4 separate regions of the Homo sapiens genome follow, and regions 1, 3 and 4 are each linked to region 2. The links are contacts of gene promoters, found by promoter capture Hi-C in blood cells and fetal thymus (Javierre and others, 2016). All regions are on one chromosome and are shown on one strand. The core of a region is centred on a gene start or on the middle of the fragment in contact, and the rest is flanking DNA. Distances in the headings are between cores, read along the strand shown. Region 1 overlaps LOC107984619 (a long non-coding RNA gene). Region 2 holds the start of AKAP11 (A-kinase anchoring protein 11). Region 3 has its middle 78 kb from the start of MIR8079. Region 4 holds the start of NUFIP1 (nuclear FMR1 interacting protein 1).

Evidence for each region. The method cuts DNA at HindIII sites, captures the fragments that hold promoters and counts their contacts. A CHiCAGO score of 5 or more calls a contact.
Region 1: a fragment that was not itself captured here is called in contact with the fragment with the promoter of AKAP11 in region 2 in 1 of 17 cell types (total B cells); the score reaches 6.9 in total B cells.
Region 3: a contact is called between a fragment that was not itself captured here and the fragment with the promoter of AKAP11 in region 2, in 1 of 17 cell types (total B cells). The highest score is 7.2, in total B cells.
Region 4: the fragment with the promoter of NUFIP1 here is called in contact with the fragment with the promoter of AKAP11 in region 2 in 1 of 17 cell types (naive B cells); the score reaches 8.1 in naive B cells.

What each region holds. Positions count from the first base shown.
Region 1 is chr13:44,913,714-44,916,413 of GRCh38, forward strand. All of the region lies in intron 1 of LOC107984619 (a long non-coding RNA gene), which reads right to left. Among named protein-coding and RNA genes, the nearest start is that of TRE-TTC2-1, 2.9 kb to the right of the region's middle. The HindIII fragment of the contact is 1,285 bases long and covers 796-2,080 here.
Region 2 is chr13:42,270,827-42,273,526 of GRCh38, forward strand. It overlaps AKAP11 (A-kinase anchoring protein 11), which reads left to right and starts at 1,326. Exons shown (of 13, transcript NM_016248.4): 1 at 1,326-1,402. RefSeq lists an enhancer at 516-695 and a silencer at 1,236-1,585. The HindIII fragment of the contact is 2,900 bases long and covers 512-2,700 here.
Region 3 is chr13:44,272,672-44,275,371 of GRCh38, forward strand. No RefSeq gene overlaps it. Among named protein-coding and RNA genes, the nearest start is that of MIR8079, 78 kb to the left of the region's middle. RefSeq lists an enhancer at 1,791-1,970. The HindIII fragment of the contact is 410 bases long and covers 1,213-1,622 here.
Region 4 is chr13:44,988,154-44,990,853 of GRCh38, forward strand. It overlaps NUFIP1 (nuclear FMR1 interacting protein 1), which reads right to left and starts at 1,318. Exons shown (of 10, transcript NM_012345.3): 1 at 872-1,318. The coding sequence starts at 1,283. It overlaps GPALPP1 (GPALPP motifs containing 1), which reads left to right and starts at 1,385. Exons shown (of 8, transcript NM_018559.5): 1 at 1,385-1,589. The coding sequence starts at 1,502. RefSeq lists enhancers at 856-1,494, 1,119-1,188, 1,379-1,568, 1,495-2,131. The HindIII fragment of the contact is 7,208 bases long and covers 1-2,700 here.

The DNA of each region.
Region 1 (2,700 bases), core at 188-2,687, 2.6 Mb after region 2:
ACCCTATGAAGTAGGTCCCATTCTTATCCCCACGTTAGATTCTAGAAAACTGAGGAACAGAGAGATTAAGTAACTCAAACAAGGAGATCTTGGATGACACTAAAAAATAAGTAATCCAAGTAGAAAAGGACTTGGGAAGGAGAAAGAGGTCACTTTTGCACATACTGTGTTGAAGTTGCCTATTTGCATAAAGCTGAGCCCCCAACTTCAGTTTGACTGTATCCCTATGAAACAGGAATAGTCTTACCTACATTTTCTTTCTTTCTTTCTTTCTTTTTTTTTTTTTTTTTTTTTTTTTTTTGAAACAGAGTCTGGCTCTGTCTCCCAGGCTGGAGTGCAGTGGTGCGATTTCGGCTCACTACAACCTCTACCTTCCAGGCTGAAGCCATTCTCCCATCTCAGCCTCCTGAGTAGCTGGGACTACAGGCGTGCACCACCAGCTATTTTTTTGTGTTTTTTGTAGAGACGAGGGGCAGGAGGAAGCGATTTGTGTTTTTTGTAGAGACGGGCGGCGGGGAGGGGTAGAAGACGGTGCCGGGGTTGGGAGGGTGTCTCGCTTTTTTGCCCAAGCTGGCCTGGAACTCTTGAGCTCAAGCTATCCACCCACCTCGGCCTCCCAGAGTGCTAGGATTACAGACATGAGCCACCATGCCGGCCATACCTACATTTTCTTAATGAGTACACAACAAGTTGCAAAATCCCAAGCTTTCTTAAATCAGGATAGATTATGTTGATTGCTCCCCCATCTACCATGGCTGTCACTCTGCGACAAAAGGAAATTAGATTCATCTGATAAGCTTTGTTTTTCACAAAGTAATGTGGGATGATTACCCAGTGCCCTGTGGTCTTCTAGAAGTTTGCAAATTGATTTTTTGATTATTTGTTCCAGTGATTTTCCAAGTAGTCAGTGTTTTTCCAAGTTATTCAGCTTTACAGTGTGGGTGAGTTAAAATTCATATTTGCTTTCATATTAATATATGAAGTGTTAATGTAATTATTTAGGATATTTTTGCATGCGGCATCAGATATACTCTGAGGGAACATACATATGAATCTGCATGACTATAAATACACTTGTTGAGGGGCACAAAGCAATTTTCATGTGGAATCCATCAGAGTTTATGACTATATGCAAAAATGAAAGCATACAGGAACACATGGTTAGTTCAAATACCCCAAACAGGTTAAGCTCATCACTTTCTAGAAATGATTATATATGATGAATTTTTTTAAAAAAAAACTTCACGTAGAAAAATTACTACTATGTTTATGCAGCTATGCTGTGAACACTGACCAAAAATACAAGAGAATATTTTTTTGGCCAGGCACGGTGGCTCACGCCTGTAATCTCAGCACTTTGGGAGGCTGAGGCAGGCGGATCACTTGGGGTCAGGAATTCAAGATCAGCCTGGCCAACATGGTGAAATCCCATCTCTACTAAAAACATAAAACTTAGCTGGGTGCGGTGGCGCACACCTAAAATCCCAGCTAGTCAGGAGGCTGAGACCCGAGAATCGTTCCAACCCAGGAGTCAGAAATTGCAGTGAGCTGAGATCGCGCCACTGCACTCCAGTCTGGGTGACAGAGGGAGACCTTATCTCAAAATAAATAAATAAATAAATAAATAAATAAATAAATAAATAAATAAAAATAATTGAATCTTCTCTGCACTCAATCCCCCTAAGCCCCGCTCCTTGACGCCAGGATTTGGAGAGAGTGGTGTCTGGCTAGAGCACCAGACAGGAATTCAATCTTTTGTGGATACAATCTAAAGTCCAATACTAGGGAATCAGAGAAATAAAATCTCAGAATAGATGTTTCCCGGGTAAAACGAGGGTCTAAGTTAAACGACTGCTAAGGGCCTTTCCAGCTCAAATAGTCTATGAATCTAAAGACTATGAGGATGATGAATGGAAGTTATGGCAAAATGTTTTACAAAAAGGGAAAGCCATAAAAATGCCAAATATAACTGAAGTAACCATCTCCCCACAAAGTGAAACCCTTTCATATCATTAAGTACCTGTCTTCAGAAATATCTACTATGCTCTGAGTCCACCAAATATTACAGCCATCTCAAGAAAGCTTCTGTCAAATCCATGAGGTCAAAACTCTATTTTATGAAAATGAATGATTAATAGGATGAGTAGACATGACAGCCTTCATATAAATGGAATTCACCTGCCATCTGAAAGCAGTTTTGTCTTGCTTTTTGGAGACAGGATCTCACTAGCCCAGAATGGAGTGCAGCAGCAATCATAGCTCACTGCAGCCTCGAACTCCTGGCCTCAAGCGATCCTCCCACCTCAGCCTCTTGAGCAGCTAGGACTACAGGCACGCACCACTGCCTGGCAAATTTTTTTTTTTTTTTTATTTTTTTATTTTTGAGACGGTGTCTCCTTACGCTGTGCAGGCTGGTCTTGGTCTCCAATTCCTGCTCGAGTGATACTCCCACCTCGGCCTCACAAAGTGTTGGGATTATAGCCATGAGCCACTGCCCCTGGCCTAAAAACAAGTTTAAAACAAACAAAAACTACACAGCTTCTGCCTGGCAGCCCCCGGCATCAGCTATCCTCCCTGGCCTTGCCCCTTAGGCTCAGGAGCTGTGAGAGCTGCATTACCCCTTCTTGTTTCCCTAAACCCTAAGAAAAACTTAAATAATCCTTGATTAAGCACTCTGCTAAGAATATATCACGAGTTTCC
Region 2 (2,700 bases), core at 76-2,575:
ATTAGTGTTATCCTTTTCCTGGAATGCTCTATGCTCTGATTTTTGCGTCTGTTATTCAAATCGCTGCTAAAATATCTCCTCCTTAAAAGGGCATCCCCTTTACTAGCCACTCAGTCACCATCACCATCACGTCACTTATTGTAACTTCTTTGCATACAGCTTAAAACCAACAGATTTTTTTTCTTTTCACCCTCAGATAAGTTCCCTAGAATCTACACTACTTGTCTTCATCATTGTTCAATCAACAGCCTAGAGTAGTGTTTGTTGAATGAAGAAATGAACAAACGAATGCACCCTTTCTTCCGTGACCCTCTCCTCTGAACAGGGCAAAACTTAACTCATAACGAGGATACACTCAAAAATGTCTTTCTTATTGCCAGGTGTTTCCACTCTTGAGGAACAGATGCCCTTTAGGAGACAGGGCAATTTGACTGGACTGGCCCTTCCGATTTTAGGTGAAAATAATCACCATAACAGCTTTTCATCTCTGGCTAGGCTTCCCAGTGACCAAAGCTTTACTTTCCGATTTCCATACCACGTAAAGACATCAGGGTGAGCACTAGGGCCCTGAGAACCCTGGAAGCTACTTCTTGGCTGGGATAGGGCTGGTTGCCCGGTGCGCTGTGAGTGGTCCTCCCCGGAGATGCTGGGAGAAGGGGCGGAGCCATCAGAAAGGATGAGCCTTCCTTGGGCCTTCGGATCTGGTGGGGCTGCCACTTTGGGAAGGGCCCCGGGCTTCGGAAGAAAGCAAAACTAGCCTTGTGGCGAAGAAGGAGCCCAGCTGGCCCCAGGCTGTTAAGACTAAGGGGTCGAGGGAAAAGAGGCAGAGCCTGAAACCAAATCTGCGGAGCAAGCCAAGGCCTGGGGACTTGCCAGAGGGAAGGGTTAAGCCGTTTCCAAGGCAACGGACCAGGAAGCGCGCAAGACGTCCGCCGCAGGTTCGTAGGTCGCCCTCGAATTTAAAGCTCCCAAGGCTGAGTGGGTCCCGGCCAATGGAGAGGCCCCCTTTAAGTCATGTGACCAGCGGGGCTGCCCCGCGGGCTGCTCCGCGGGCTGCACTGGAGCACGTGGGAAGGCTTTTTTTCCTGTTCCTTCTTTCCCTTTTTAAACGCCCACCCACTTTTGCGCGGGCTCGGCCGCGGAATTTTTCTCGCGAGAGGCGCGCTGCCCTCTCGCGAGAGAGAGTGGGAGGCGTGGAGAGTAGGCGGTGTTGCGGGCCGGAGCTGCGGCGGCGGCGGCGGCGGCGGAAGCCGAGGGGTGGGCAGGGCGGGGGCGGGCCGCGGGGCTGGGAGGGGGAGGGCTGGGGGTCAGCGCGGGAGGGGGCCAGCTTGCTTGCCCGGCTCGCTCACGGGTCGTTGAGGCCGGTGACATGTCTGTGAGCTGCGGAGGCTGCGGCCCCCAGGTGAGCCGGGCGCCGACGTGCTCGCCGCGGAGGCTGCGTTTAGATGGGGTGGCGGCGGGTGTGCGGCCGGCATGGATGGAGCGGCCCGGCTCCGGCGCTCCAGCCCCTCCGCCTGCCGCTGGTCCCCCTTCTGGCTTCGGGGCCGCCCGAGAGCTGCGCCTTCGCATGGCGGAGGGAGGAGGGCGGGAGGAGCGCGGCCGAAGGAGGAAACTCACCGCACCGGGCCCAGAGTAGAGGGAGGTGCTGGGTCTCGAGACGCGTCTTCCTGGGGTCCCAAGTGTGGCGGTGGAGCTGCCGCCCCTTTTAATGACAGGCTGTTTCCATCCCCGGGGTGGTCTTCAGAGACGGCCCCCCGGGTGCGTGGTGCGCGTGCTTAGTGTGTGTTCGTGGTGTGCGCACAGGAACATTTGCAGCGGTTGGGAGGACGTTGCACTTTGTTCCCGAACAGCATCCTTCACTGTCAGACCCCCGGAGCCTTGGAAGCAGGCGCTGCTCAGATCTTGTAAACGGAAGGCGTCAAGGGGCTCCTCAGAGTATTGATATTTGGATTTGCTGTCAAATACTCTCCTAGGCTGTTAATGGCTTAAGGCTGGCCATAAAGTACCCCGAATGGATTGAGTATACTGCTGTTAATCCAGGCATCTAAGCTGCTTTATAAAAAATATGTAGATGTAACCGAAGTATTAAAAAGTGACAATGACAGTAAAAGCTAACATTTTTTCTCTTCCCCATATTACCAGCTTTCATTTTTTTTCTCTGCTTTGTCTGTCTTCTAAAACCATATAAAGTTGGATGTGGTTTAGCTTTAGATGTTAAGGAGTTTCATGGTGAGAAAGACTGCTGAGATACATACCTAATAGCTTTAGTACAAACTGGAGTTAATTCCTGTTCTCTTTTCAGCTTTTCAATCGCTTGCAAAATGCTCGTTTTGCTTAGCTGCTTCCCACTGTTTTAGAAATGTCATGTCGATTGTTATTTTGTTATGTCTGAAAATACTCAAAATATGGAGTACTAAGAAAAAATGGGGTATCAGTAATGCACAGATATATTTTTTTTAATGTCATCATTTTAGGATGGCAGCCCAGTGCCTGGCATGATTGGTGTCAGTTAAAATAGTGCAATTGAATGATTTTTTTTTTTTTTGAAAAACACATTTACTTTTTCAAACGGTACCCTGATTATTCATTTTTTCTTGTCGTTGTTCCTCCTGACAAAACTGACCCAGGGGTGGACAGTGAATGTCACTATTGTAGCTGTAACAGTAATTTATGAAAGGTCAAAGAATGTAAGGAAATCAG
Region 3 (2,700 bases), core at 168-2,667, 2.0 Mb after region 2:
AAAAAAAAGGAGGATTGGAAGAAGTGAAAAGAAAAAAAAAAGCATTTGGTGGAAAGTCAGAGGGCACCTCCAAACACTGCCTCAACTGTCATGCTTGACTTTGTAAGTGGACTAACACCAAGCTGATGATGAATCAGTCGGAAACGATGATGCTATCTCCAACCCCTACTGCCTAGAGAAAGGGTTTCCAAGTCCAGTACCTCCAGGGGCAAGTAGGCAACCTCACTGTGAGGAAGTCAGCCAGATATGAAACAGCAGGGAGTGATGGAATCATGGAAACCCTGTGCAGAGAGCCTCCTAGACCAAAACATTCAAATTCAAATCCAAATGCAGGCAAAGCCAGCCTGAGGTCCCGATTCATGCTCTGCTGGCCAGATCTAGAAGGATAGTGCTCTGCATTGCAAAAAGTACCTCTAGCCTGGAACAGGACCTGTCCTCTTTGATTTTTCTACATTTCACAGGTTTAAATTAAGTACACTCAAAGGTGTTATTTGTAGCAATATCCTAACTACATTGAACTACCATTTAACATGCTGTTTCTACGGGAAACATGTATTGCAAGTTCTAACTCTAAGTGCTAGGAGTGTCCCAGCATCCATCCCATCTTTGGTGATGACAGCATCCATGGAATCAACATCTGAGGTACAGAACGTCACTGGGGAGGCCAGGAGAAAGCTCCTGGGTGCAGATAGCTTGTGATGGCTCCATATCTCTGTATATATCTCAACACGACCCTCACACTCGATACTCCAGGCATGTCCACCTATCTACAGAGGGCCCGCCATCCTCATTTCTTCACCACTGCTGTGTGCCATGCTACATCCTCTGCCTCACCTTCACCCAGCTGCTTGTTTTTATCCTGTGGGCCACTTCTTTTCCTAACCTCTTCCCCGCTCTGTTGTCTGACACTCCAAAGCCACCAGAGCATGTTGTACTTTCCCCAGTGTGGTGCTTCTCCACACTGGATTGTGACTGTCATTTGTGGTCAGCATCTCCCCCAGACTGGTAGGAGGAGGAGAGGGTCGGACTCTTCACAGCAGTATCCCCAACACCTGACTGGTGTCACATGCTTCGTGGCCAGCATTGAATGAATGAGCAAATGTATTAACAAAAAATTGAAGGAATGAAGAGATAAAGCAACTTTTTGCGCTAAATCACTGGTATTCTCAAATGGGTCACATGACACACTGTCCTCTCAAGGGACAGAGACAAAGCTTGCATCTGAAACTCCCCATACCTGCACATTCATTGCTCAGTTAACCTTCACAATAACCAACATGAGGTATTTCTTTTACAACAATAAAAAAGTAAATTGATGACTAGAGATATTGAATAAATTGCCCAGCACCATAAAGCTAGTAAATGGCTGAACCCTGAACTCCAACCCAGCTCCCCTGACTGCAAAACCTGTGCTTTCCCACCACACCGGGCTGGCCAGGGGTTAGGAGCTCACTGATGCCTGATGGCAAACATACTCCTGCTGTCGCTGCTGCTGCTCCCACTCCTGACTTCAGTATTCCAGGCTCACACAGCCAAATCAGCTCTCAGAAGAAGTCAACCCCAGAGTAGATTCTGGGTCACAGCTGTTACAATCAGGAAGTTGGTCTTTAACCCCAGGTAGAAGCTTCACTTCACTAGGGTGGGATCTTTGAACACAGAGCATCCCTTCCATCTGCTGTCCCACACCTGCCTCCCTATGCCTATTCTCATCAACACATATTTAAAACCTTTGAAGGACAACCTCAAGCCACATGCAAAAAACTTCCTAATTATTAGGGAGCGAATTTGCAATATTTTAGTATATATAAGTAAGAGTGAATGAAAGAGACATAGAGGCCGAGGGAGAGGCAGAGAGAGAGGGAAACAGAAAGTGAAAGCAGAGGCAGAGTTATGCATAACAGGTTCTAAAATACACTATTTGGTAGGGGTGTAATGATGACGCACATTGCTAGAGAAAAGAACAAAATGGAGGAAGCTCTCTGGCGTCTATGTGCCTTATAAAATTATTAATTTAACCAATCCCTAAAGTCATGAAGTATTAAGTGACAAGTTGTCTAGCTACAATAGTATGAGTCAACTACTGCATATTCCACTCTATTTTAACATTGAAGCCTAAGATGATTTAGGCTAACAAAGTCATTTTCCAAACAAATCTAAAAATCAAATCTTCATACAAGAAAAGAGGGAGAAGCACCAGACTTTAACCCCAAATGGCAGCCAGTCTTTATGAGATTCTGTTACAGGGTCTGTAAAACTCTGAGCCAGCTGCATGGAAAGGACCCAGGACCACTCACACTGACTGATGTGGTCTTTGAAAATGTGCCAGCAAGGCTTACAGAGAAGGAAACCAGAGCTTTTCAGAACTCAGCTCCTCTGCACAGCGACACAGTGAGATGGACAAGGGCTGCTCTACTGAATTTGCAAATGTGAATTTAACCCACTTATGAAAACAGTACCGGGCATGGCTATATCACTTATCAGCTCATCAAGTTTGTTCTGGAGGGGAAGCAGTTTTGTGTGGCCCCACTATCAGGCACCAGCCTCATAAAGAAGCAAGCAGCACAAATCCTAAATTCTGTGGTGTTTAATGGAGGCCATGTCAACACAACAGCGGGAAAGAGAGGGACTCTCTACCAACCGGTATACTAAGACATAATCTAGAGGCCAAAGGACTCCAGATAAATTACCCATTGCCCAAAA
Region 4 (2,700 bases), core at 68-2,567, 2.7 Mb after region 2:
TCATGCCTGTAATCCCAACACTTTGGGAGGCTGAGGCGGGCGGATGCCTGAGCTCAGGAGTTAGAGACAGGCCTGTCCAACACGGGGCAACCCCCTTTCTACTAAAAATATAAAAAATTAGCCGGGTGTGGTGGCGTGGGCCTGTAGTCCCAGCTACTCAGGAGTTTGAGGCATGAGAATTGCTTGAACTCGGGAGGCAGAGGTTGCAGTGAGCCTCTCTGCAGAGACTGCATAGGCTGGAGTGAAGTAGATCGCGCTACTCTTCACTCCAGCCTGGGCGACAGAGCGACACTCTGTCTCCAAAAAAAAAGAAAAAAAGAAAATCCTGCACTACTTACCATTCTTCTTTGTTTTATCTCTCTCCATGCCACTCAACCTTCTAATGCACAATATTTTATTTTGCTTATTGTCTGTCTTCCTACACAAGAGAGATAATATTAAGCTCCATAATATTTTTTGTATGTTCTGCTCACTGCTATATACCCAGATTCTGGTACATAGTCGGAATTCAATAAATAACTGCTAAATGGAATTAACAGTCAACAGGAAAACATTCTAGTCAGACATATTTTGAGAACAAAGGATTTACAATATTATATAAACTTAGTTGATAAAGCAGCCTCGACTTCCTGGGTTCAAGGAATCCTCCTGCCTCAGCCTCCCATGCATCTGCGACCACAGGCATGCCACCATGCCTGGCTAATTTTATTTTTTTTGTAGAGACGGGGGTCTCACTTTGCTTTGAGATGCTAATGACCAGACTCCAAGAGTGCAGAGGCAAGGCAGAGTAGAGAGAGGAAGCAGAGAAAGGGGAGAGGAAAGAACGGGGGAAAAAGGTAAAGGGGTCGACTCACGTGGAAAAATAGCCTACCTGCAGGGTTGAAGGACTTCTGATGCCGAGGAAACCTATCAGAAGACTGTCTCCAATACCACGATGTGGAAGCATGGAAATTCCAAGGCTGGCCGCTGGGTTGAGGCTGAGAATCAAGGGGAGACTGGGCGTCGAAGGGGGGTTGCGCCCCGGGAAGAATCTGGGCGTCGAAGGGGGGCGGAGCCCCGGGGAGAGACTGGGCCTCCATGGGGGGCTGCGACTCAGAGGAAGGCTTTGACCCGGCTGCGGGAAGCGAGGACGTAAGTGGTGGTGGCGGTGGCGGCAGCATTGCCCAGAACATCCAGCTGTCCCGCGGCGGGGCAGTGTCGCTCAGGGGCCCTAACGTGGGAGTCAGCTCGGGAGACGCATGCCACCCGATAGGAGTCTCGAAATCACTAGTCGGCTCAGCCATACCACTGGCGGGTCCGGAGTCTAGCACGCGACTGTGGAGCAAGCATTAGGCGTCACTTCCTTTACCGTGAACTACAAGGCTCAGCCAACCACAGGCTTTACGTCATTTCTCGGCGCCGGGAAACCTGCCATTCTTCGCTGCTGATCGCGGGATTCTTTTTGGATAGGGTTGACGTTCGTGGATAGACTCATATCTGTGACCAGTGTCCGCCACCGCGGATGGCAAGAGACCTGATCGGACCGGCCCTGCCGCCCGGCTTCAAGGCCCGCGGAACAGCGGAGGACGAAGAGCGGGACCCGAGCCCTGGTAAGCGGCGGCGTCTCCGCTGCCCACCAGGCCCATCTACCCACTCCCTGGCCGGGCCCTGCTCGCTGAAGAAAGTCGGAGGCCTAGGAGGGCGGAGGAGTGGGGAGTGGGCGCGGCCTGACCCGAGAGAACTTTTCTCTTCCCAAACAGTAGCAGGGGGGAGGAGGCTGGGGGACCCTCCTAGAAACGAGCTTTGGCGTGGTTTGGCTTCGTGATGATAATACATTCTCATTTAGCCTTAATATGAGCTGCACGCTGCCCTAACTGACTGATACCCACTCAGTCATTTAAGCCGTATAAGAAAAAAACTATTTTCCCATGTTGCAAATGGGTACGCCCAAGCCCATGCCAGTGTCTAGATCATACTGCTAGCAAGTGATGGAGCGCGACTTAGAAGGAAGCGGTTCTCTTAACCTCTGTGCCATATTGCCTTCTGATTACAAGAACCTTGCAGATCCTGTTCTCTCCAGCCCCCGACCTGCCTTCCTAGCCTCTCATTCTGTTATTGCATCTGACAAACACAGCCCAATACTCAATCCAGTCTGAGTTGCTGCGCAATTCCTTAACGCTCTAGGCTTCTGGGCTTCCTCTGGTTGCATTCCTAAACATAACTGACAAACTTCTCCCCATCCTTCAAGGCCCAACTTAAATGTCACACCAATAAAACCTTTCCAGATTCCCCGAAGCATTGTCATGCCTTTCTTTTTGCCCTCGGGTTTTTTCCTAATTACATTGCATATTTAGTACACTGTATTTGAATAATTTGTCGACATAATCTGTCTCCACCATTGCACTATGGTCTTCTACCTGAACACGCAACAGGCACTTGGTATATACGAAACGAATGCTTCTCGGATTCCGGCATGCATACCTATCTGCTTTAATGTTTATTCACATTTGTAGACTAGCACCGACACCCAGTTGGAGAAGAGTAAAGCTGAAAGAGTAACCCTGCCATTTCTGAATCTAATTTTTCTTCCTGGTCTACCCGGAGGCTATGTTTCTACTACAGGCCCCTTTCCAATATAATTTCTGTCATAACCACTTTAAAAATTATGCCTTCCAGCTGAGCGAGGTGGCACAAGCCTGTAATCTCAGCACTTTGAGAGGC